Linked DNA regions of Homo sapiens: region 2 is linked to region 1. Evidence: promoter capture Hi-C in human tissues and cell types (Jung and others, 2019). All regions are on one chromosome and are shown on one strand. The core of a region is centred on a gene start or on the middle of the fragment in contact, and the rest is flanking DNA. Distances in the headings are between cores, read along the strand shown.

The links. Contacts are between HindIII fragments. The study calls those that stand out against the background at their distance.
Region 2: a contact is called between a fragment that was not itself captured here and the fragment with the promoter of C3orf22 in region 1, in 1 of the 25 tissues and cell types used here (thymus).

The regions. Positions count from the first base shown.
Region 1 is chr3:126,557,043-126,562,299 of GRCh38, reverse strand. C3orf22 (chromosome 3 open reading frame 22) reads left to right here and starts at 3,368. Exons shown (of 4, transcript NM_152533.3): 1 at 3,368-3,673. LOC105374090 (a long non-coding RNA gene) reads right to left here and starts at 3,287. Exons shown (of 3, transcript XR_924455.2): 1 at 3,111-3,287. The HindIII fragment of the contact is 13,796 bases long and covers 1-5,257 here.
Region 2 is chr3:126,711,237-126,716,373 of GRCh38, reverse strand. All of the region lies in intron 1 of CHCHD6 (coiled-coil-helix-coiled-coil-helix domain containing 6), which reads right to left. Among named protein-coding and RNA genes, the nearest start is that of CHCHD6, 9.6 kb to the right of the region's middle. The HindIII fragment of the contact is 6,288 bases long and covers 1-5,137 here.

The DNA.
Region 1 (5,257 bases), core at 2,119-4,618:
AACCTCCAAGTTAAACCACTAAGATAGTAACTAAAAACTATACTGAAAAAGACTGAAGAAAAGACTCAAAGTAGTACGCTACAAAAATCAAGTAACTTTACAGCTTAGGCAGTAATTGTGAAATTGAGGACCAAAAAACACATGAGACATAAGGAAAAGAAATACTAAATGGCAGAAGTAAGTTCTTTCTTCTCAGTAATTACTTTAAGTGAAAGTGGATTAAATTATCCAATTAGTAGGCAAAGATTAGCAGAATATATAAAAGACCCATATATGTGCTGTCTATAAAGAATCACTTTAGATTCAAAACTCATATAGATTGCAAGTAAAAGGGTGGAAGAAGATATTCCATTAAAGCAGTAACCAAAAGAGAGCTTGCATTGATATGTTATTGTCAGACAAAATAGACTTTAAGTCAAAAAGGTTACAAGAGACAAAGAACATTAAACATTGATAAAAGGGTTGATCCATCAAAATATATAGCTATCATAAACATATATGCACCTAACAACAGAACCCCCAAAAATATGAAGCAAAAATTGATAAAATTGAAGGAAGAAATAGTTCTACAGTAATAGATGGAGATTTTAATACCCAAATTTCAATAATCGATAGAACCAAACAGAAGAAGATCAATAAAGAAATAGAGGCTGAGTGCAGTGGCTCACGCCTGTAATCCCAGCACTTTGGGAGGCTGAGGCAGGTGGATCACCTGAGGTCAGAAGTTTGAGACCAGCTTGGCCAACACAGTGAAACCCTGTCTCTACTAAAAATACAAAAATTAGCTGGGCGTGGTGGTGGACGACTGTATTCCCAGCTACTTGGAAGCTGAGGCAGGAGAATTGCTTGAACTTGGGAGATGGAGGTTGCAGTGAGCTGAGATCATGCCACTGCACTCCAACCTGGGTGACAGAGTGAGACTCTGTCTCAAAAAAGAAAAAGAAATAGAGCACTTGAACAACACTCTAAACCAATTAGACCTAACAGATTATATAGAAAACTAAACCCAACAATAGCAAAATATACATTCTTCTTAAATGTACATAGGATGTTCTCCAGGACATATTAGGCCATAAAATAAATCTTAATAAGCCTAAGAAGATTCAAATCATACAAAGTATATTTTTTATCACAACGGAATGACTAGAAATCCATGACAGAAGGAAAACTGGAAAAATTACAGTATTTGCCTATTAAATAACACACTTTATGCAACCAGTAGGTCAAAGAATAAATCCACAAGGGAATTTAGAAAATGCCTTGATATGAATTAGGCCAGGCACGGTGGCTCACTCGTGTAATCCCAGCACTTTGGGAGGTTGAGATGGGTTGATCATTTGATGCCAGGAGTTTGAGACCAGCCTGGCCAGCATGGTAAAACCAAGTCTTTACCAAAAATGCAAAAATTAGCCAGGCGTGGTGGCACCTGCCTGTATTTCCAGCTACTCGAGAGGCTGAGGCATGAGAATCACTTGAACTCAAGAAACAGAGGTTGCAGTGAGCCGAGATTGCGCTACTGCACTCCATCCTGTGCAACAGAGTGAAACTGTCTCAAAAAAAAAAAAAAAAAAGAAAAGAAGGAAAGAGAAAGAAAAAAGAAAATGCCTTGATATGAATTAAAAGAAAAACTCAACATACCAAATGTTATGGTATGCAGAGAAAGCAGTGCTAAGAGGGAAACTTGTAGCTATTAATGTCTACATCTTAAAAATAAGAAGGATCCCAAATTAATGATCTAACTACACAATTTAAGGAATTAGAAAACGAAGAGCAGACTAAATCCAGAGCTAGCAGAAGTAAGGAAATAATGAAGGTTAAAGATAAATCAAGTCGAGAATGGAAAAACAATGGAGAAAATCAACAAAACCAAAAGGCGATTTTTGAAGTGATCAAAATTAACAAAGCTTTAGCTAGATTGACTAAGGAAAGAAAAAGACTCAAATTAGTAAAATAAGAAAGGAAAGTGGGAGGTATTACTACTGACCATACAGAAATAAAAAGGATTATGAAAGAATACGCCAAAAAATGTCACGCCAACAAATTGGATAACCTAGATAAAATGGACAAATTTCTAGAAACAAAAAAAAAAAAAACCAACAAGACTGAATCAGGGAGAAATAGAAAATATGAATAGACTCATAACTAGTAAAGAGATTGAATCAGTAACGAAGAAAAGCCCTGGGCCACATGATATCACTCGTGAATTCTAACAAACACTTACTAAAGAACATACATAAATGTTTTTCAAAGTTTTTCTAAAAGTTGAAGAGGTGGGACCATTTCCTAACTCATTCTGTGAGGCCAGCATTGCCCTAATACCAAAGTCAGACAAAGACCCTACAAGAAAGGAAAACTAGGGGCCAATATCCCTTATGAATACACATGCAAAAATCCTCAATGAAATATTAGTAAATGAAATTCATCAGCATATTAAAAGTGTTACACACTATTAACAAGTAATATTTATCCCTAGAATGTAAGGATTATTTTTTCATAATGAAAATATCAATGTACTACACTACATTATTAGAATGAGGAGGAAAAGACATGATCATTTCAATTGATGTGGAAAACACGCTTGACAAAATTGAACACTCTTTCATGATAAAAACACTCAACTCCTTAACATGATAAAGGCAATATATCCAAAAATCCCACAGCCAACACCATACTGTATAGTGAAAAACTGGAAACTTTTTCTCTAAGATCAAGAAGGAGACAAGGATGCCCACCTTCCCCAGTTCTATTTAACACAGTACTGGAAGTTCTAGCCAGAGCAACTAAGCAAGAAAAGGAAATATAAAGCATTCGAATTGGAAAGGAAGAAGTGAAGTTACCTCCGTTCACAGATGGCATATAGAAAACCCTAAATAATCCATAAAAACCCTGTTAGCACTAATAAGTAAAAAGCCGTAGGGTATAGCAGACAGTGGCACAGGTGAACAGCACTAATAAGTGAAAAGTCGTAGGGTACAGTAGACAGTGGCACAGGTGAACGGCTGAACCACTTCCAGTTCAGCTCCTTCACTGCCTTCTCCTTCCTCAACCCCCTGCAACCTGGTGTCCACTCCTCCACAGAAACAGCTTTTCTGCAGCCTCAGTGTCTGTACCTATTTCTGGGCGTCTCTTCTGTATGCAGAACCTGAACAGGGAGAGGTCTCTGCTATGAAGAGTGCAGATGTGGATGCTTCTGTCTGGGTGCGTGGAGCTGAGAGGCTGGCCAGCCCTGGCCCATGTGCTGCTGACTTTGCAGTCACTCCCTGGGCCAGAGGGGCTTCAGGCTGGAGTCTGAGCCTCATGGGTCAGCAGCTGTGATGTCACCAATTGTGACCTCAAGGGCTTCTGACCTTGCAGTGAGCTTGTTGGCACTGCCTGTCCGGGGACCCTGGGGCTGCTGTTCCTGTGGTAATGTGGCAGCTGGGACCATGGCCAGCTTCAGTCTGCCTGGCGTCACATAAGCCAGCCCACAGGGTCCTGCAGCTTGTCCTTTCTGGCTGGAAGCTCTGGGCATAGCCTGGGACTGGGTCTTTCCAGAGAGGGCTGTAGCCAGGGCCCTGCCAGCCTCGGGGGCCACAGCGGCTCTCACACCAGCATCTTGCTGGATAGGAGCAGTTCCAGGACTCTCTGATCACACCTGATCATCGTCACTGCCAGAATTCAAGGTAGCTGCCTGGTGAGTGCTAGCAGCCTGTGTGGCTGGAAAGGACAGTCCCCAAGTCGGTTAGGGACTTGGGAAGCAGCAACAGGGTGGCGGAGAAGAGCCTGGGACAGGGTCATGATGGCAGAGGGCAGCCCTGGACTCTGCAGCAGCCCTGTCCCTGTGGGGCAGATTCAGCAGTCAGCTTACAGGGTCATCTCCATGACCTAGGGGTCAGGTGGGAGGGTATGGGGTGGGGCTGAGGGGCGCTCCTGTCTCCCTTGATCCCTCAATTCCTGTGGTAATGCTGCTTCCCCGGTTCAGGACTGTTTGAGGCTGCATGGCCCAGCAGGAGGAGCACAGGCCACCCATCCTGAACCTCTTCCCCGACTCACTGTGTGAATGCAGGCAAATCAGTTAACTTTCCGGAGCCTCAGTTTCCTCACTTGAATTATGGGGGTGAGCATAATACGTTCTCCATCAGGTAGAAAAAAAATGAAGTGAGGTTATGCATAGAATGTAGCAGACACTTAGAGGCCACAGGCACCATTCTGCAGCCTCCTGCTGTGGCCCTGCTGCCTGTCCCGGCCCAGGCTTCCCCTGCCCCGCACTCCTCAGGGTTGAGCCTGGGCTGGAGGTGACTCACCCAAGTGCACCTGACAGGAAGGGGCTGAGCTGGGGCCTGGCCCAGGCTGTGGCTGCAGGACTGTGGGCTTAGGCCCAGCGAAGGCATCCCAGAGTCCTCAGAACAGCCAGGGCTGCAGGGGCGGAGGCCACCAAGACCCCCTTTAGCCAGCACTGGTGTAGAGAGCTGCACCCTGTACTAGACTAGTGGGCAAGTCAGTGGGGAAGCCTGCCCTTCAGGGCCCAGGGACTTCTTGGTGCGGGCAAGGGACAGGTCGTGAGCAGGGCTGGCAGTATTTCTGGGCCAGGGCAAAGGCCCTCTGGATGGCTGATCTTCCAGAGTCAGAGATGGGGCACGGAGGCGGTGGGTGAGCGGGTGTGTTCTGGCTCACAGACAGGCTGGTCTCCCATGCCATGGCCATGGTCCCAGTGGCCTGTGTTCAGTGTCCAGTGTGCAGCCTCCCGCCTCGGGCCTTGAGTGATTCCACACTTGGCGGCAGGCAGCCTCCCAGCTAGCCCAGTACCCCGCCCTCAGAGGGATGGATGAGCAGCATGGCACATTATGGGATCACTGCCGAGCAGTCTTGCCCGAGCCCACCGGCTTTTGGAGGACTCCGGAATCCCAGATTTGGAAAGGGCTACCCGTGTTCCCCAGGGGCTCCTCTCCAGACATCATCGGATTTTGAATCATGCCAGGTGTGGTAGTAGGTCACGCCAGCTGCTTTGAATTGGGAAGGGAAGCAAGGTGCGTTATGGGCTGGTGGGGGCAGCCTCTGCCTTGGACCAAGGAAGCGAGGAGCTCCCAGGTCACGCAGCAGAGGATAGGGACAGAGCTGAGGCCAGCCACACCCAGATGGCCACCTGCCTGTGTGTGGGGGTGTGTATGAGGTCAGGTCTGAGTGTGAGTCTGTAAGAGTGTCTGTATGTGTCTGTGTGTGAGTGTGAATCTGTGTGTGTGTGAATCTGTGTGTGAATGTGTGAGTCTGTGTATGTGAA
Region 2 (5,137 bases), core at 1,017-3,516, 160 kb before region 1:
GAATTGGGCCTGAAGGGATGACAGCAGAGAAGGGGTGTGAGCAGAAGGTGGCGTTCCAGAGAGAGGTGTGGCATGAGCAAAGGCACGGAAGGGAGGGAGCTCCAAGGAGCACCACGGCTCAGTCTGGCAGGGACGTGAAAACATCAGGTGTGAGGAGTTGCTGGAGTGCCACCTGTTGAGAGCCTTGGATGGCAAACCAAGGAAGCTGGAACTGGGAGTCAGTGAAGGCTATAAGCAGGGATGTGGTCAGTCTTCTCTTTGCACAGGAAGGTCTGGCAAAGCAGGAGGAGGGACTGAAATCACGAAGGGGCTGGTAGCAGGGAAACCACCACAACAGTGCAAATCAGGAGGAGGAGCACTGAGAAGTGTGACAACTGAAGCAGTGACAGGGAGGGGATGGTTACAAAAGACGCCAAGGAAGTGAAACTATTTCAGACCATCTGACTGAATGCGCAGGTAAGAGGAAAAGGGAATGGACGGAATAGCGTGATCTCATTTGTACTTGCAGAAAGGAAAGAGTGCACTTGTATCCACGGCCTTGGGAAAACTCTGAAAGGATTCATGAGAAATTGTGACCAGCTGGCATTTAAAAATAAGATGCACTCCACAAGAAGAAAAACTCCTAAAGTAACAGGGATGAGGGAAAACTGATAGCAAGGCCCTGAGTATGGCTCGTGGGAAAGAGGCAGGCATCATTATTGAGCCACATTATTGATCTCTGTGTGGGTGTGTCATGTTCCAAGTCCATCCATGCAGCTCTGTTCCACAGGCAAACAGGTTGCACAGGAAGCTACAAGAGGCTACCTCTCTAGAAAGATGTTAGGGAATCCCAGGCATACAAGAGCCTAGGGGCAGGCCAGGTAAGAATGTAATTTCCCCACACTCCAGAGGCAGGCAGCAAAGCTCATGGCTAGAAGAGAAGACTGCAACCCAAGACTGATGATAAGGGTGCCTATTTAAGGCTAATGACAAAAACGACCCTGACTTGCCGTTCCTAGAGCATACTCCATATGCCAGGCTCCAGGTAAGGGCAGTCCCTGTGCAGCGATCGCCACTTTACAGATGAAGAAACTGAGTCAGGGAGGTGGAACGTGGGAAGTGCTAGGGTAATGACTCAAATCCAAACCCTGGACACTTAACAGGGACCCCTGCACAAGTAAAGGCAGTAACATGGAGCTGCTCTGAGGTGACAAGTAACCCTTTTCATAGAAGGGAAGACTGGGAAACAATAGAATGATTTGCAGTTCCCACTTCCTCCACCGACTGCTTTATGGAGCCCCAGGGAGATGGACGGGCAGAGCATCCGTATACCCACAAAACAGACAACCTACTTTAAAAACTAGTCGAATGTCAATATGAAAATGAGTATGTTTTTAGCCTTAAAAATGTTAACTACCTAGGCACATTTGGGAAGGCGCAATGGGGAGGCAGTTTAAGCATTAGTCTTTGCATTGAAAGTTCACACAGTTCACAAAGTGAGGCATCACAGGCAGGAGCGGTGTCATCGTCCTCACTCTGAGGATGAAGAGAGTGAGCTGCAGAGAGTGACTTCCCAAAGTTATACAGTGGGTCAGCAGCCGAGACAGGCCTACGCAGCCATGCTCCATCCACTCAACGCAGTGTTTTCCTAGGGCCTGCTGGGTGCTAGGCACTGGAAAACGAGGAAGAGATAAAATCAGCTCAGGCCTACAGCAGGCAGGCAGGGTGGGCTAGGGCAGGCCTAGCACCAGGACAGTGCCGATGTGGCCAGTTTCAGAAGGACAGGCTTCCAGGAGGCTCAGCCTGTCAGCTCCTGGTGCCAACACCCCGATGCCCGACACCCCAGTCTCTGTAGAGGTGTTGCCCAACCCCGTGATCCGAAGAAGATCACCCCCTTGCCTAAGGCTGTTGCCTTGGAGATTTTGTTCCCTAGCTCTTCAGTTTTCTATGAGCTGAAATTAGATGCACCGGCTGCTCACCACAGATGTCAATCCCAGAAAGGCAGAACAAGAAGAGCCCTCGGAGACCTCCTACACCAAGCATGGCACACACAAATGCCCACAGGAGTCGGACAGGTGGTGGAAACAAATAAAACAAGCCTGATTTTAAAAAATAAAATTTATAAAGCACCATGCAAGGATACCATGGTGTAACTGTAATGAGACTGCACAGCCACCTGAAGAGTGTAGCCACTTTGCAACTCCAGCAAAGTGTTGTCACACAAGAATGGCAGACTTTCCATTTGTTCCCCCAAAAAAGCTAAAAATAAATTTTATGTAAAGCCTCCCAACTTTTTTTTTTTTTTTTTTTTTTTTTTTGAGATGCAGTCTGGCTCTGTCGCCCAGGCTGGAGTGCAGTGGTGCGATCTCAGCTCACTGCAAGCTCCGCCTCCCAGGTTCATGCCATTCTCCTGCCTCAGCCTCCCAAGTAGCTGGGACTACAGGCACCCACCACCATGCCCGGCTAACTTTTTGTATTTTTAGTAGAGACAGGGTTTCACCATATTAGACAGGATGGTCTCGATCTAAAGCCTCCCAACTTTTAAATGGTGGCAATTACTTAAAATCAATTAATATCATTAAGTTTCTGGAGTCATAGTTTGAGGCAAGAAAAACTGAGCCAGTGGCTTAAACTTTTATCCAACAAGTATTTTACTGACTTGTGCCAAGCTCTGGCTTAGGTGCTGGGGACAGAGAGACGAAGAAGATGTGGCCCCTGTTCATGGGGCAGAAAGGAAGTAAGTGTGGAATAGATCATTTTGGCCCAGGGCACTAAGCCCTGGGAGGGGACCACAGAGTCTGCAGGGGACACCACCAAAGGCTCCTTCTGAAGGCAACACTTCCACCTGGCCAGCCAAAGGAGGAGAATCACAGGCACACATGCATGAAGCAGCTTAGGGTCCCGCAGGATCAAGTGTCCCTGCAGGGAGGCGCAGTGAAGGCAGAAAGTGGCGCCCACACATGAAGGACCTTGTGAGCCAGGCCCGGAAACATGCCTTTAACCAAGAGGCAAGGGGGAGACATGAAAGGATGTGACACAATCAGCCTCAACTCTGAACAGTCCCCGGGACACAAGAAGCTGGTCACGGGCTGCCTCTGGGAGCAGGACTGACAAAACACAGTGGAAGGGAGACAAGCTTTTCCCCGGGCAACTCCTTTTTAACTGTCTGCATTTAATGACCATCTCCTGGAAACCTGTTCAAAAGTAAAATTTGCGTTTTTTAAAAAAAATAGCCTGGTAGCACCAGAAAGTATAGATTTGTGGGAAGCAAGCTAATAAAGAACAATTTGTCAGCTGGTCAAGGGGAAGATAGTATAGGCCTGAACTGAGAGTAGGAAGGACAAAGAGGAGAGAACAAAACGGAGAAACTGCTGTAAGGTAAAGCTCAAGACTTGTCATGAATATAGAGAAAGAGAGGAACGTGGATGACCGCCAGCTTTCCGGATGAAGGACTGGATAGTAGAGCTACTCACAACAGAAGAGACAAGGGTCATCTCTAAGGGGGCAGAGAAGAAATGCGGGTGAGTCCCATTTGGACACAGTCAATTAAATGTACCCATGGGACATGCACGGGGGTGCTGGCAGGGTCATTTAGAAAGCTCTGGGTTGGATATTTAGAATCCAGAAGTCATGGGTGCATGAATGAGGATGAAAGAGAATGGCCAGGAACAGGGCACAGAAGGGATAGCAGGCTCAGAAACGGTCAGAAGCTCCTACCAGACACAGGAAGGGCAGAGACGGTGGTTGATGCTGGACACTAGTGCCACTGCGGAGAGCAGGAGCGACCCCTTCCAATAGAGGGAAAAGGCAGCACTTGAAGCCTGGGAGGATCAAGGCTGCCTTCCAGTGCAGCACGTTTACTTTCCAAATGTGGGAACTGGCCCGAGATGAGCCTAGTAAGGGTTACAATTAACAACCTTACATTTATATTATTTTATAGATTTATCTTTTACATACAGAGACCTTCAACATTGTACTGTGATACAAGAAAGGAGGAATGTAATGGAATTTCATCATATATGAGGATCATATGCTGAAGTCAGAAGGTGGAAATAACTTTTAACTCTTGTACTACTTAGATTGTATTACTGGTTACGCTGTACTATATTATGATAAAATTTAAAGGATATTCAACTAAACCCTTGAGAGTGATTCCTTCTGCACCTAAAGTACAGTGTGGTTGTGTAGACAGTCCCCTGCTGTCATTCTCACACACAGTGAGTTTCAGAACCACCAAGGCAGAAAAATGGAACGCACCAGCGGGAAATCTACATGCAGGTGTCTGGGCCTTCAACCATCCTGTCTTTAAGATGAGCCTCCACTCCTCAGCAGCTGAGGTGGAAAAGGTAGAGAGACCTAAAGTACTGTGCTTCCCTGCAGAATTTGCTTTACCTTGTTTTCTAATGCCTCAGCACTTGTCAGAACATGTGATGGATTCAGGAGCATCAAACAGAATAACACATGTGAAAGCAGCTAGCCCAGAAACCGGCACACAGTGTGTACTCAAGAACCATTTGTTGGACTTGAAATCAGAAGCAGATACTGTTCATTGAAAAGCAGCAGAGAAGTTGGCTGCCTGTTTTCTGGCTTTCCAAGCTGGCAATTCCTGATGCGGGCTCCATCAAACTGCACTCATCCAAACAGCCAGGTGAGCTTTACAGCTGTGGAAGACCAGAGACGATCTATAACGCAACCCCTTCGTGGTGTCTATGCTAAATGGGCGCATGGAGATGCTACATCATATCTCTATCTTGCACATAAGGAGAAAGACACATCCTTCTGAAGTGTCAGGGCATAAGTCCAGGTCTGGGATCTTCTGTTTCCCACACTGCCTTTAAGTGAGTCAACTAAGATGAATGCTGCAACCAAAAAGCAGACATTCTAGAGTGAACAGGATCCCAAGCACAGAGTTTAACATCCAGCAAGAACAAAAGAAAGAACAGGAAAAGTAATCATATAAAACATATCATAAGGAACTTCCATGTTCAAACTGAAACAGTCAAGGAGGCAAGCTCAGAAGCATTTCACTAGGCAACCACATGGCGGAAAACAAAGTCTGCCGCACACATCCCGAACAGGTCTGTGTTAAAGCCTGGAAGAATAAGATTCTCATGCACAGCTGCCACAAGATCGCCAGCTTGGCTAGAGAAGGACTGCC